Linked DNA regions of Homo sapiens: region 1 is linked to region 2. The links are contacts of gene promoters, found by promoter capture Hi-C in blood cells and fetal thymus (Javierre and others, 2016). All regions are on one chromosome and are shown on one strand. Each heading gives the region's core, a stretch centred on a gene start or on the middle of the fragment in contact. The rest is flanking DNA. Distances are from core to core; before and after follow the strand shown.

What was found. Contacts are between HindIII fragments. The CHiCAGO score rates a contact against its expected background, and 5 or more counts as called.
Region 1: a contact is called between a fragment that was not itself captured here and the fragment with the promoter of LINC02285 in region 2, in 1 of 17 cell types (endothelial precursors). The highest score is 5.5, in endothelial precursors.

The regions. Positions count from the first base shown.
Region 1 is chr14:100,901,717-100,908,329 of GRCh38, forward strand. It overlaps MEG8 (maternally expressed 8, small nucleolar RNA host gene), which reads left to right. Exons shown (of 51, transcript NR_146000.1): 6 at 4,382-4,447; 7 at 5,220-5,416. It overlaps RTL1 (retrotransposon Gag like 1), which reads right to left and starts at 2,006. Exons shown (of 4, transcript NM_001134888.3): 1 at 1,889-2,006; 2 at 1,575-1,670. The HindIII fragment of the contact is 1,853 bases long and covers 4,249-6,101 here.
Region 2 is chr14:101,115,878-101,122,571 of GRCh38, forward strand. It overlaps LINC02285 (long intergenic non-protein coding RNA 2285), which reads left to right and starts at 4,979. Exons shown (of 2, transcript NR_146490.1): 1 at 4,979-5,267. LOC124903386 (a long non-coding RNA gene) reads right to left here and starts at 5,419. Exons shown (of 2, transcript XR_007064341.1): 1 at 5,151-5,419; 2 at 4,637-4,887. RefSeq lists enhancers at 1-342, 343-1,232. The HindIII fragment of the contact is 1,856 bases long and covers 3,136-4,991 here.

The DNA.
Region 1 (6,613 bases), core at 3,925-6,424, 210 kb before region 2:
GGTGCTTGGCCACTCTAGGTGTTCTGGCCCTCAAGAGGGGAGTTGGCAGCAGGACAGTCCCCACCTCCCCCCACCAGCCCTGGGCACTCAACCCCATTCTCTGCTCCTCTCCCTCATTGCCTTATTGGGACAGAGGCACCCCGCCAACCATCTCTGTGCCTTTGCCATTTAGCCCAGGGCAAGCTACTCGGGAGAGGCCAAATGGCCTCATACTGACCCCTGCCTGGTCCCCTCTGGCCACCTCGCTCACTTGCCCGCTTGCCTGCTCAGGAGTTGGTGCTGTGGGAGCTTCTCAAAGGCCTAAACATGTGGGCTGCCAGCCTGGGCAGGAAACCGTGCTGCAGCCTTCTCAGCCAAGCACTGGCCTGCCTCTCTCCCCTCGGATGCCTCCTGTAACAGGGAGCTCCCTCTCTCCCCAGGCAGCCTGCTCAGGGCTCGCACGCAGAGCTGCTTTGCTGAGCCCTCCCCTGCCTTTTGCATCTGCCTCCTCGGCTGTGCAGCAGCCCCCTTGCCCCCTCTGCCCTCCGATCTCTGCAGGCTGTGGGCTCCCTCTCTTTTCAGTCCTCTCCTTTCTGTGCTGAATGGCAATACCCCCACCAATGGTGGGAACAGGATTGGGCGCCTCTACACCTGTCCTAACACCTCTGTCTCTGTTCTTTTAGACCTGGGACAGAGCCCTTTGCCCTGCTGTTCTGCTAAAAGCCCAGGGGAGGGCGTGGTGCTCCCCTCCTGGGGCCAGCTGCTCCATGTCTATCTGTTGAGCGGCTTCTCAGCCCTCTTGGGTTTTCTATGGCCCCTTTTCCAGTTGCTAGGGAGAACGCTCTGTATGCAGCCCCCTGCCTTTTCTGCAGGAGCTGCTGGCCTCCCGGCCAGCCCTGGTCAGCCCTGCAGTAGCAGCAGCAGCAGCAGCAGCAGCAGTAGGCAGCCACAGCAGGGCTGGGGGCTCCCGAGCCAGGCAGACCGGCTTGACTCCCTGCTCTCTAGCTGCAAGACAATTCCCTTTACTTTTCAGACTCGGCTTTTCCCCTGTGAAATGGAGATGAGAGTTTCTCCGTCACTGGCGTGAAGTGAGGACTAAATGAGATAAGTGTAGGCTTGCACACATCAGACACTTCATAAATGCTTGTGGAGTAGACGGTGGGACCCAGGGAGGGAGAGAGAGGTATGTAACAAGTGTCGCAAGAGAGAAAACAGCCTGGCCTTTCAAGACCCTGCTCCCAATACAAACGGGAACCTCTCCTGGCAGAGTCCCCTCTGCTGGCTTAATCGCACAAATCAAGTCAGCCGGAGGCAGCCCCCGGCCTGTGGAACTCACAGTAGATGCAGCAGGCAGCATAAATGACATGCAGAGCCCACATCTGCATTTAATAGACCGAGAATTTGCATTGTATATAACAGCACGAGGGGTAAAGCATGAAGGCATAAAGGAACAGTTTTTCCCGGCGGCTTCCTTGAAGGGCCAGCTTAGACAGGGGTCTGGGGAGGAGAAACTCAGCGGGGTCCGGGCATCCCATAGACTATGGGACAGACATCCATCCATGCACTCATTCTCCAAGCCACCACAGTGTACCTACCTTCCCCGGGCCCAGTCCCAAGCGTGAGGCTGGGGATGAAGTGATGCCGGTGGCTTAGTGATGCCGGTGGCTTCCTGTCCTCGAAGCTCAGTCGGTCTGGTGGGGGAAACAAACAGGGAATAAGACACTGGAAATTGAGGTGATCAAGAGGGGGTGCAGGCATGGAGATTTATGGAGCCCCGTCTTGGAGCCAAGTCCCGAACTGGGCTGTCTGCAAAGAACTCACCCGGGCAATAACCCTGCACACTGGTCTCATGAGCCCCATTAGATTGATGAGGAAACTGAGGCACAGAAAGGCAAAGTCCTATACTCACCGTCTCTCAGCTGGTGTGAGGCTGGGCCAGGATGGAACCCCAGACTCTCCGAGGCTCCCCACCACACCCTGCTGCTGAAGGCTGCTCAGCGAGGCTGTGCCGAGTGCTGGGGGGGTGTGGGTGGGCAGGGGACGGATTGATTAGTTATAAGCACCTCCCAGCGGTGCTTGAGATCCCAGCTCCTCTGTGGCCCAATCCGTTTGAAGGGCAGATTCAAAATTAGGTGGTAGCACCTATGGGCAGAGGCTTATGAAAATGGCATTATTAACCTGATGTGGAGAGGGCCCTGCCTGTCTGCAAGTAGATTGCAGATAGAGACGGAGGGGGCTGGGCTTGTTTGTGTGGACAGTGAGTTAGAGAGGACAGAGAACATCCAGGGGCCCTCCAGGGCTTCCGGACGGGGAGAACCAGATCTGGAGGGGCTGGACAAGTGGGAGGGGGAAGAGGGGTACGTCTTAAGGGTGCCCCGGCACCTCAGGGAAATGCCCCAGGCTGGACTTGGAGGAGGATCTCCAGCCTTGACTCTGACACAGACAGGGACTATGGCCCTCCCCGCACCTCGGTTTCCCATCTGTGAGATAAGAGATGGAAACCAAACGTCATTTCGAGAAAAGCCCCCATTCCCACCACCCTCCTGGCCCCCCCCTTCCCCCACCACCCCAATCACGTTTGCCAGACACCTGTCTGCTTGTCAGAGCAATATTCAACAGGAGAGTTCCTTCGCTTCCTCCCTGGAGGGAGAAGGGAGAGGTGTGGACGGGGAGAGGGGAGGGGAGAGGTGCCCCCCACTCAGAGAGGCCGCTGAGCAGAGTTCTGCATCGGGTAGGAGTTGGGCCACCGAAGATTTGTGCCAACTCACGGTGCGGTGGAATCAGACAGTCTGAATTCTTCAGACACCAGCCAAGAGTCTGTGGCGCCCCCACGTGCCACAAGGGGGCTGCCTGGGCCACATTTCTGAGCCCGAAAAGTGAGGAGGGGGACAGTCAAGAGGGACCGGCGCTTTTGCTCTGGCAGCGGCGCTTTTAACTGCGACAGATGCGTGCGGTGCGGCGGGGGAGCCGGCCGTGCCGGGGCTGGGGGCTGCTGGGCGGGGGTGGTCGGGGCGGGGGGCGGGGGCTGCAGGTTGCGCCCCTCCCTCACAGACGGCTGCGCTGCAATGCAGCAGGCTGCGGGAGCTGTCCCGGGAGCTGTCCTGTCCGGTGGCCGGCTTTCCAAAGTGGGGAACGAGAGATGAGGGAGGGAGCACTTCCAGGCGCTGCGTGGTGGCCAGGCGCCCAGGAAGCCGAGGGGCCCGAGACTCTGCAGCGGGGCCAGAAAGAGAAGAGTGGGGGAGGAGGCCGGGAGTGGTGCATGGACCAGGGGGTAGAGGGAGGTGGGTGTGGACCTGGGGTCGGGCGCCAGTCAGCTTGCAGCCTATGAAGGACGGAAAGGAGGGCTACAGAGATAGGGGAAGAGTGGGGCTGAGGATAGCCAGAGCGGCTTGGCACACAGTTTTAGGGTAAAAGCATCAACTCTTATCTTTCCAAAAGAAATAAAAAAGCCAAAAAAAAAAAAAAAGGCATTTGAAAGCTAGACAGCTGAATCCTTCCCAGCATGACTGAGCCGGTCACTCCAGGGTCTTCCTTCAAAGCGTGTCTAATGGGAGACAGCGTTGTCCCAGTAACCAAATTGGGACCAGAGTCCCAGGGAAGGGCTCATCAGGTGGCCGCTCTGCCTTGAAGAGTGGTACCCTCAGGCCCTTTTCCAGCCAGGGGTCAGGGAGAGAGCTGGAGGGCTCGGGGAGGCAGGGACTGGGAGGGAGAGTGGGGAGAGGAGCGCTGGGGGCTGCAGGAGGGTCTCTGGGCAGCTGGCGGGTGTCTCGTTCCGCAACACTCTGCACCCTGGTACATCGTCCTCCGTCCACTCAACGTGGAATGATTCTCTTCCCTCTGGATCCAGCCCCTCTAGTTCCCTTTTCACTTTGAGGCATTTGCCCCCTGTGAATCAGTTCCCTGCTACTCCAGAAAATTTCTCTCATACCCCAGGCCCCTCTGTTCTTTTAAATGGCACCCTTCACCCCCAGCCCTTCATCTTCTGCACTGTATTTTCACTTGTTGATTTAAAAATCCCTTTATTATGGGAAATTGCAAACAACACAAAAGTAGAGAAAATAGTACGTATTTTTACTGTTTACTCAATTTTCATCTTGCCATTACCCGGACACGGTTGCCGTCAAACCCTGGCCCCTCTTGTTTCATCTAAACCCTAAACTGTCCCTCTACTCCCACTGCCCAACCCCTACCCCTGGACTATTTCGAAGCAAATTTCAGACACCATCCTGTTTCCTCTGAGCATTTTTTAGTTTGTATCTCTAAATAAGAAGCTTTTGTTTCTTAAAAATAAAACCACAACACCATTATCACAAGTTAAAAAATTAATAGCCTTTCCTTAATATCATCCACCATCTATGTAGCATTCCAATATTCTTGATTGACTCATAAATTTCTTTTACAGTTGGCTTGGTCAAGTCAGTGTTCAAACTATCTCCTGCTCTTTCAAGGGGATCTGGGGCTCTAGAAGGTAAGTATGGCTACACATTTAGGGGTTGAATATCTGCCTGGACCTTAAATGAGAAACTCAACCTCAGCAAACCTCAGTGTTCTCACTGAAAATGGGGCAAGTTCTGGGTCTCTCCTTGGGTCATTGAGAGGGTTAGAGCATTAACCCCTGAAGCCCCAGCCGCATGTCTAATATGTCAGAGACACTCAGCAAACAGTAGCTGCGAGAATGATTCTTTTTCCCAGAAACGTTTAAAGGGGATTTGGGCAGGGGCAGGCAAAACATAGCTGGCTATTGTCCATAAAACAAAAGGCTCCTGGCAGTCCAGGTCCCCTGAGTGGTTAAAACAGCACATGCACTACATCCCAAAAAGGGCAGCCTACAGTCTGGGGGCTGGGTTCGCCTGGACCTCCTGGCTTGCCGTTTAGCTGCCTGACCTCAGCTGTTGTGACCTGGGACCAACAGGGGACCCCGGCAGGTGCCTATCCACTAGATGGCACTCTCTACTGTGAGTCCAGGGGGGACCACCACCCCAAACTGCTTTGGCCACTGCCCAGCCCTGGGTGCCACCGGAAGATGCACACCACTAAAACATCGCAGATAATTTCTAAAAAGCACTTCTCAACATGTCATGCAAAAGATGCGGTGGTTTATTTCCTTGCATAAATCCCAACCAGATTGCAGAAGCAGAGGGAATGAACATTTAATGACTTTGCTGAGGCCAGACACTGGTATGTCTACGCTCTCTTTAAATCCTCATCCCAGCGACATCTGATTTCCCTTCATTTTACAGATTAGAGGACTTGGAGAGGTTAGTGACTTGCTCGAGGTCGGCTAGGAAGCAAGACCCAGGATTCCAACTCAGGTCTGTGTGATTCCTCTGCAAAATGGAGAGGTGGAAGGATGGATGTCAGGTCTGATGGATGGATGGATGCCTACATCAAGATACATGCATAGATGGAGAGATGGCTGGCTACCTCATGAATGCTGGTAAGATGGATGAGTGAATTGAAGCACAGGTGGTGGAAGGAGAGAGGAATGAGAGAGGATAGTCAATTTCCCACCAAGATCAAAGGCTTACTTGATCTTTGAAGAGAGGTTCCCTCTGAATGGAGCTTGCTGGTGAAGCTCCTGCCTTCTGTTCTGCTTCTGAGCGCACTGACTGGCTCAGGTGGCTCTGGGACAACAGGTGGGATGCCAGCTTACAGGGACCAAGTCCCAGCTGTGGTGCTGGAGCTGCTCAGTGGCAACTCTCCGTCTCTGCTGCTTTCACGCAGCACTGACGAAGAGCAGGCATCCGCCTTTCCACTGGCTCTCCTGGATGACTAAGCCCTAAGCCCCAACCGCATACTCAGCCCTTCACTGGCACTTGGCATAATTTTATCTCCTCTAAATCATCACAGCCACCCTCCATGATAGCAATTTCTATTCTCAATTAAGTGAAAAGGAAACCGAAGTTTAGGAGTGGTAAGTGACTTACCCAAAATCGTATAAGGAGGAAATGCAGACCCAGGATTTGAACTCGAGTCTTCTTTCCTTCCAAACTCATCCCCTCAACCTGTTTATTTCCTTTTCTCTATGACCATGTCTGAAGAAATCTGCCTTGGGGTTGTCTCATATTGGACTCACTCTCTTGGTCTGTCAGTGAGCTGAACTTCTCATCCAATCAAATCCAAGCTTATTTCCCAAGTAATATCTCTAGTGTATTCTATTTGTAATGATCACACAGGCAAGGGCCACACATATCACTGGCATCCTACAGTACAATTAATCAAGTCAAATTAGATTCCTGGCATCTCATATTCTGACTGAATGCTAATGGTAGTAGATGTAAAAATGACTCCAGTGCAAGGCAAGGAGGGAGGGGACTGGATGTAGGGCTGAATGGCGAATCAGTAAGCCTTGCTGCAGACCTGGGTTAACATTAGCAGATAGGTTTTGAGAACCTGCTCATGGGCTAGGCCCTACTTCACACATTCTAGGTGCTAAGGTTTCAATCTCAGCTTTGCCATTGACTACTTTTGTGAGTTTGGACAAGGTATTTAATTTCTGTGCCGCGTTTTCTTCAGTTGTACCAACAGTACCTTACTAATACCGATAGTACCTTACTAATGAGTACTTGAGGATTAAATGAGGCAAACATATAAATTCCTTAAAAGAGAGCATTCCAGGCTGGGCATGGTGGCT
Region 2 (6,694 bases), core at 3,729-6,228:
GAATGGGGGACCAAGGAGGAAGAGCCAGTGAGTGGGTGGACATGGAGTCCCCCAGCTAGGGACCCTACAAACACCTTTGGGGAAAATCACTGACCGACCTCGGCTGCAGGCAGCCAGGGTCTTTCAGCAAACTAAAATAGTTACCAAATTCACTCAACTCAGGACCTGAGCTGTCTAGAATAGAGTATAGATAATTCGGTGGACAGGCGGGAAAATCTAAGGTCATTTCCCTGATGTAGCAACAGTCCCTAGGGGAGAGGAGGGGGCCAGCCTCTGCCTCCAGGGCCTGTTTCACTGTTAGGGCGCTGTCCCCTCTCATCCCAGGGCTGCAGGAGGCCATGAAGGAGGTGAGAGAGGCAGAGGTGTGGTCATGGTTTCCCTCCTTGCTCTCAGCACCCAGTGGCTCCTTAAGCTGTTGTTGGGGGTGGGGGTGTCTGGAGGTTTTGTTTATTGCACAGCAGGCGGTCACCTCCAGAGTTCTATGGAATGGATTTCAGAGCTGCTTCCTGGGATCACAAACTCTTTGGAGTTCAAGGGTGCAGAGGCATCTAACATGTGGGAACCCTATGGACTTGCAAGACCTTCTTTTCTCAGCAAAGGAGCACAGCAGCGGAAGACACGGGTGGGATGAGAAATTGCAGCAGTTGAGCACACGCTCACAGTGGCCCTGCCGGTCTGCACAGGCAGCTCAGCTGCTCCAGGACCCAGTTCTATCTACCACTCATGGACACTGAGTGACCCTCAAGCCCCCCTCCCTTCCCACTCCAAGCACTCCAAGCTCAGTGCTCTTGCAGCGCTGGTGGAATTGAAGTCACATTTTCAGAAGAGTCACGGATTCTGATGCTGAGGACTGGGGCTTTACGTCTGTGCTGCTGCCACCATTGTGCACAAACCTCCGGATCCCAAATCTCTCAGGACAGGCTTGCGGCACCGTCTGACCTGACCGTGAACAGCATCAGCTCCTCTCCCACCTGCCCTCCAGGAGCAGGGAATTCACAGGCCTGGAACGCTCCAGAGCTCTGCGTCTCAGGCAAGACTTCCGATACTCTCCAGCTTTGTCGGGCTCCTTTTTTCCCACCAGACTGCACAAAAGGAAGCTGAATCTGGCATGCCACCCACCACCCTGGGCCTCCAGCAAGCTCGGCCTCCTGAGGCCAGAGATGGGACTTGTTGGGGGAGAGGGGCCAGAAGGCTCGACTCTCCAGGATCCAGTTCTGTCTGTCACTTGCAATCTGACTTTGGGCAAACCCCTGCTCTCTGAGTCCCGGTTCCGCTGTCAGATAAGCTGGGATGATGTTCATCTCCAAGTGGTTGTAAGGGTTAAATGAGGGCATGGACATGTTTTACAAATTGGGAAGGAATAGAAAAATGATTATTATGGTTGTCCTTGTAAGTGACTGCTTCTCAAAAGCACACAGAGGCTACCTTAAGAGATTTATTTTCCTTCCCTTTTATTTTGAGCTTGACTTTGGAGGACTGAAAATATTCAGAGCCAGAAGGATCTGGGGAGGTTATTAAGCCTGAACTAAAGCCTTGACAGGTTGTGGTTCTAAAATTGCCAGCCAGTGAACAGGCCTGCTCTCCCACCCTCCCCCTTTCTCCCTATCTTCATGCATACCTCCCTGCATTCATATAATCACCCATCCATTCGTTCATCCACCCATGTGTCCATCATCCATCCATCTGTCCATCATCCATCCATCCAACTCTCCATGTGTCCATCCATCCACTCACCCATTCATCTGCTTCTCTCTCCCTTCCATCATTCCATTCATCCATTTTCCTTCCATATATCTACGTATTCTTCCATCCATCCATCCATCCATCCATCCAACCATCCATCCATCCATCCATCCACTTTTCCACCCATCCATCCATTCATTCATCCACCCATCCATGCATCCATCCATCCATCCATCCATGCACCTATCCATCCATCTCTCCATGTGTCCATCCATCCACCCACCCATTCATTTGCTTCTTTCTCCCTCCATCATTCCATTCATCCATTTTCCTTCCATATATCTGTATATTCTCCCATCCTTCCATCCACTTTTCTATTCGTCCATCCATCCATCCATCCATCCATCCATCCATCCACCCATCCATCCATCTCTCCATGTGTCCATCCATCCACCCACCCATTCATCTGCTTCTTTCTCCCTCTGTCATTCCATTCATCCTTTTCTCCTTCCATATATCTATATATTCCTCCATCTGTCAATCCACTTTTCCATACATCCTTATGCCCATCCATCCATCCATTCATCTCCCCATTTATCCACCTCCCTCCATCTCTCCTTCCAGCACTCACAAACACTGCCTTCATGTTTGGCACAGGGAACCCAGACTTAGATCCATCCCCCACTGGAGCCTGGACAGCCATAGGACATAGGCCTCAACTAAATGTGAAACTTCAGAATGGGGAGTGGGTGTGGGGGAACCCACAGGGGTTCAGAGAGGAACTTTAGCACTAGCCAGGGAAGGGCTATGGTCCTAGAAGAGTTAACTCCACTCTTCTGGCAGCTACCCAAAGAGCTAGAGAATCTGAGCATGTCCCTCCTCCCCCATCCCTGGCCCACCTTGGCATCTTTCTGCTCTGCTGAGGCGAAAGCCGCCTTCACTCTGCAATTTAATCCCAGTTCCCATAGCTCTGCAAGTTTCCTAGACTCGAAGACAAAGATAAAAACATCATAATAACCACAGTGAGACAAAAAATAATAATCCCAGTGCTGAAAAAAATGAGATGCTGTCGCTTACATCTTGATAAACTGTAAAATTTATCTTTTTGTGCCGATCTTCCCTTCTCTATTTCATTTACAGTGGATTTTTAATAAAAAAAAGTTGATAAAAATCAAAGCAACATAATCAAAATAGAAAAGTTTGACATTTATAGATGTTGTTTATTACTATAGTGTTTTAAGGTATTAAAAAGGCACACCAAAATTAGTTTCTTATCAAATGTCAAATTTTCATCAAGTTCTCGCCTACAAACTATTTCAACTTTGTTCTTTGGAACAGAGTTGAGTGTCTCCATGAGCACGTGGGGGAGAGTCCCTGAGGACTTGCAGTGTTGTTTCTCCCCGCATCATCACTCCACTAAAAGAATTAACATGACGTGTTGTCTTCCTAATAAGCTTTAAGAAGGAGTTTGCTTTTCTTGTTCTTTTTCCCCTGCTTTAGAGGCAGATGTGTTGCTGTTTGTGTATCTTATACACTAGAAGGAAACTGCAATGGTGGAAAGGTCTCCTGACCTTGGCCCAGTCCAGAACTGTCCCAAATGACCCCATCTTGACTCCGAACGAGCCCATCCCTTCCGCATGTACAGCTGTGCAAAGAAAGACGCTGTCTCCGTGGAGCCAACAGCAGCCCTGGGCGGTACCAGGGGCAGGGTCTCAGGTTGGAGTTTAATTGCTTGGAACAGAGATCAGCTTTAATCAGCTTGAGCAAGGAGGGAGGAGGCCCTAGACAAAGACCAGGCCCGGGGGGCACAGTGAACATGGGGTGTCTGGGAGCCAAGAGCGAGCCCCAGGAGCGTGAAGACAGTCGGGCGTGGCCAGGATGTGACGGGGCTGGGCTTTCCCTTCTTAGAGATGAGGGCTGGATCGCCGGGAGGGGCCAGCTCCAAGGCAGGAGGCCAGGGCTGCCATCCTTCTCGAACATATCCATGGACACCATGAAGGTGTGGTCAGGGGCAGAGCTGGGCAGTCGGAGGAGCTAGGGTTTGCATCCATCGTGTACCACTCCACGTGTGTCCTGACCAGATCACTTTCCCGGCTGAGTCTTAGTTTCCCAATTACCTGAACTCCCTCGGCCTCAGTTTTCTCATCTGTCAAATGAACAGAATGATTCTTTTGCCTGAAAGGGGAGCAAGCACTGGGTATTCATTCTTCCTGCACCTCGGATCTCCTCTAGTTTGGGGATCTGCGAGCCCGTGGTTGAGCGGGATATGAACTCAGGCTCCTGCCCCCAAAGGAGTCTTTCTCCTCCTCCCCCCACCTCCTGCTTTCCTGTCCTGCTCGGCAGGCAGCCTCGGGTTGCAGAGGTGAGTCCTGCTTTTCTCCCTCCCACACCGTGCTTTCCCTTAACTCCCCAGCCCCAGGGAGAGGCAGCATTCTACATTTCAGAACCTTCTGAAGGGGGTTGTGTCCTTCTTCCAGAGCTAACTCTCTTGAGAGTGCTCTGAGCTGGACAGCTGGTGGGTGGAAGACAGGCAAGACAGCGATGCCAAGAGACACAGCATTTCCAGATGATTAGAGGAAAAGAAGCAAAGGATGTTGCTCGTCTCAGAAAAATCAGTGCAAACAGCCGTCAGGGAAATAGCTTCCCATGAAAGTCCCACGAATGAAAAACAAGAGGAACGAGGCGTCCACTGATCCCAGAACAGACAGGAGGAGCATGGCAGAGACAATTAGGATCTATTAGCCCTGCCCCTCTTCTAAACAGCCACCGGGGGACAGCCTGTGCTGGGCCCAAGAACACAGCGATGGCCAGACGGGCCCTGACCCTGCGTGACCATCCCGTGCGGCTCAGGGAGACAGTACTCAAAGCTCAGGGGACCGGCAGGTGCGTGACATCCAGGAGGGAAAGCCATGCACTGCGGAGGTTTAAAGAAGGCGGGAATAAACTCTGCGACTTTTGGTTTAGAAAACACACTGTATTCAGAGGCAGCCAGAGATGATTTATAACATGCCATATTAGGGAACTTATAATAGCATCTAACAAGCAAAACCTCCGCATTTCAGTGGCTTCATGTAACACCGTTAATTCTTGCTTCCTGAACAGCTCCATGTGGTGCTTCTGGTGGGCAGGTGGCCCTCTTCCTGGCTGACTCAGGGACCCCTGTGGCTCTGCTGTTCAGGGAGAGTCAGAGCCCTCTGTGTGCAGCTGGCAAAGAAGGAAAGTGGCCAGGGGGATGGCCCAGCCCTATCTCAGAAACCTCAGCCCGGAAGTGGCCCACTTCCCTTCCACTCACAGTCTTTTTGAGAAGAAGCTTGTGCCTGTGCCTGGAAGCAAGGAGGGCTGGAACTGGGGCCCTGCTGGGAAGCCCTGTATCTGCAGAACTGTGTCCCGTGGGGGCCAGGGGACACAGATTTTTGCAGCCCTCTGATGCTGAAGCCTTTCTGGGGCTGGGATGACCCAATGCCCACCTGGACCGTGCACTTCCTGGTGACCCTCTGAGACAACTTCCTGGGCAGAGTTGATCATCATGGAGTCAGTGCAAGTCTGGGAACAGTGGCCTGAAACTGCGCAGCTCCAGTGTGTCGGTGAGCGCCGTCCTCCCAGGGCTCAGGGGAGGGCAGATGAGAAACCAGAAGATCCGCAGAGCAGGAGGCTCCACCGGAGGCCCGAGCCAGGGCCACCCAGAGGAACGGGCCCTGGCTGGGGACAGAAGCCTGCTGGTGTGCTCACTGCGTTTCCTTCCCCTTTGTCCCCCAGCTTTTAAACGGGTTTGAGGAAGTCTCAGGGCTACGTCAGCTGTGCTAGGGGAGCCAACGAGGGCAACTGGGCTGAAGCGAGCAGTGAATCCGAGAGGAAGTTCAGGACAAGGGGCCCTCCGTGTGGCTGAACAGGGATCCCTCCCTGGCTGCCCTTCAGTTGGGCCCTTCTCTCTGAGCTCTTCTCCACGAGACTCCACCACGGCCTGCTGAACTCAATTTTAGCAGAGAATCCTAAGTGAGCTGATTGAGAATCCCCTCCCCTTGACAAATGATTGAATTCCACGTCATCATTTTCCATCCACAGCCCCTCCCTTTGCCCATGGGCTGTCAATCCCCAGGTGTCCCCACTGTGTTCAGAACTGAGTCCATCTCTGTCCCTGCTGTAATACTCTTGAGTCAAGTCTTCCTCACCATTTGTAGCTGGTCCGGGGCACCCCACCGAGAGTAGGAGACAATTCTTCCCATCTAGAACATTCCTTCCAGGCTCAGGACCACTCTTGCCTGCTGGGGGATAGGGGCTGCCAAGAGGGGCTTTTCCAACATGGGCAGTGGTATGGGAGCTTGGGCCGACCGTGGCGGACTGGAGGGCAGGCATTTTGGGTGGGAACGGTGCTCACCTAAGGCTCCTTCTGCCAAGCCCCTTCTGGCCTCTGCCAGGACGGGATGTGACAGAGTGCATCTGTGCCCGGCTGCTCAGGGCAGAGTGGGGCAGGGCAGCGTCCCTGGGGAGCAGAACCCCAGGCCTCCGCATGAGAGTGCTTCAGGGGCACCCGGGCACCCTTCTTTGAAGGTTCTTTCTGTTTTTAAGCCTCTTTTAAGCTGCCCAAGTGCCAGCTGAGGCTATTTTGGGATCAGCCATTCATCCCAGGGCTGTCTGGCCCTTCTGAAAACTCTCATTAAATTGTTCATCGACAGGAACCAAATACTTGGCCCCAGGGCCTCCAGGCCTCCCCCGATGTGTGGCCTCCTGGGGTCCTTGCCCGAGAGGCTGAGGGGGAACCTGGCTGGCCACCAAGGCCTTGTAAGTATCTTCTCCCTCAGAAATCCAAGTCTGTCTTCCAAAACACCCCCACCCCCGCCACTGAGTTCATGAATATTCCCTCTGTGGACACACAATTCGAACTTGCGCGCACACGGCCCACCCACCACCTGAGGGAGGGACGGCTTCCAGTAAGTAATTACTCAACACAGCGATCCCAGGACACGACCTCGGAATGGGAGAGCGGAGGCCTTTGTTGGTTCAGAGCGAAGTG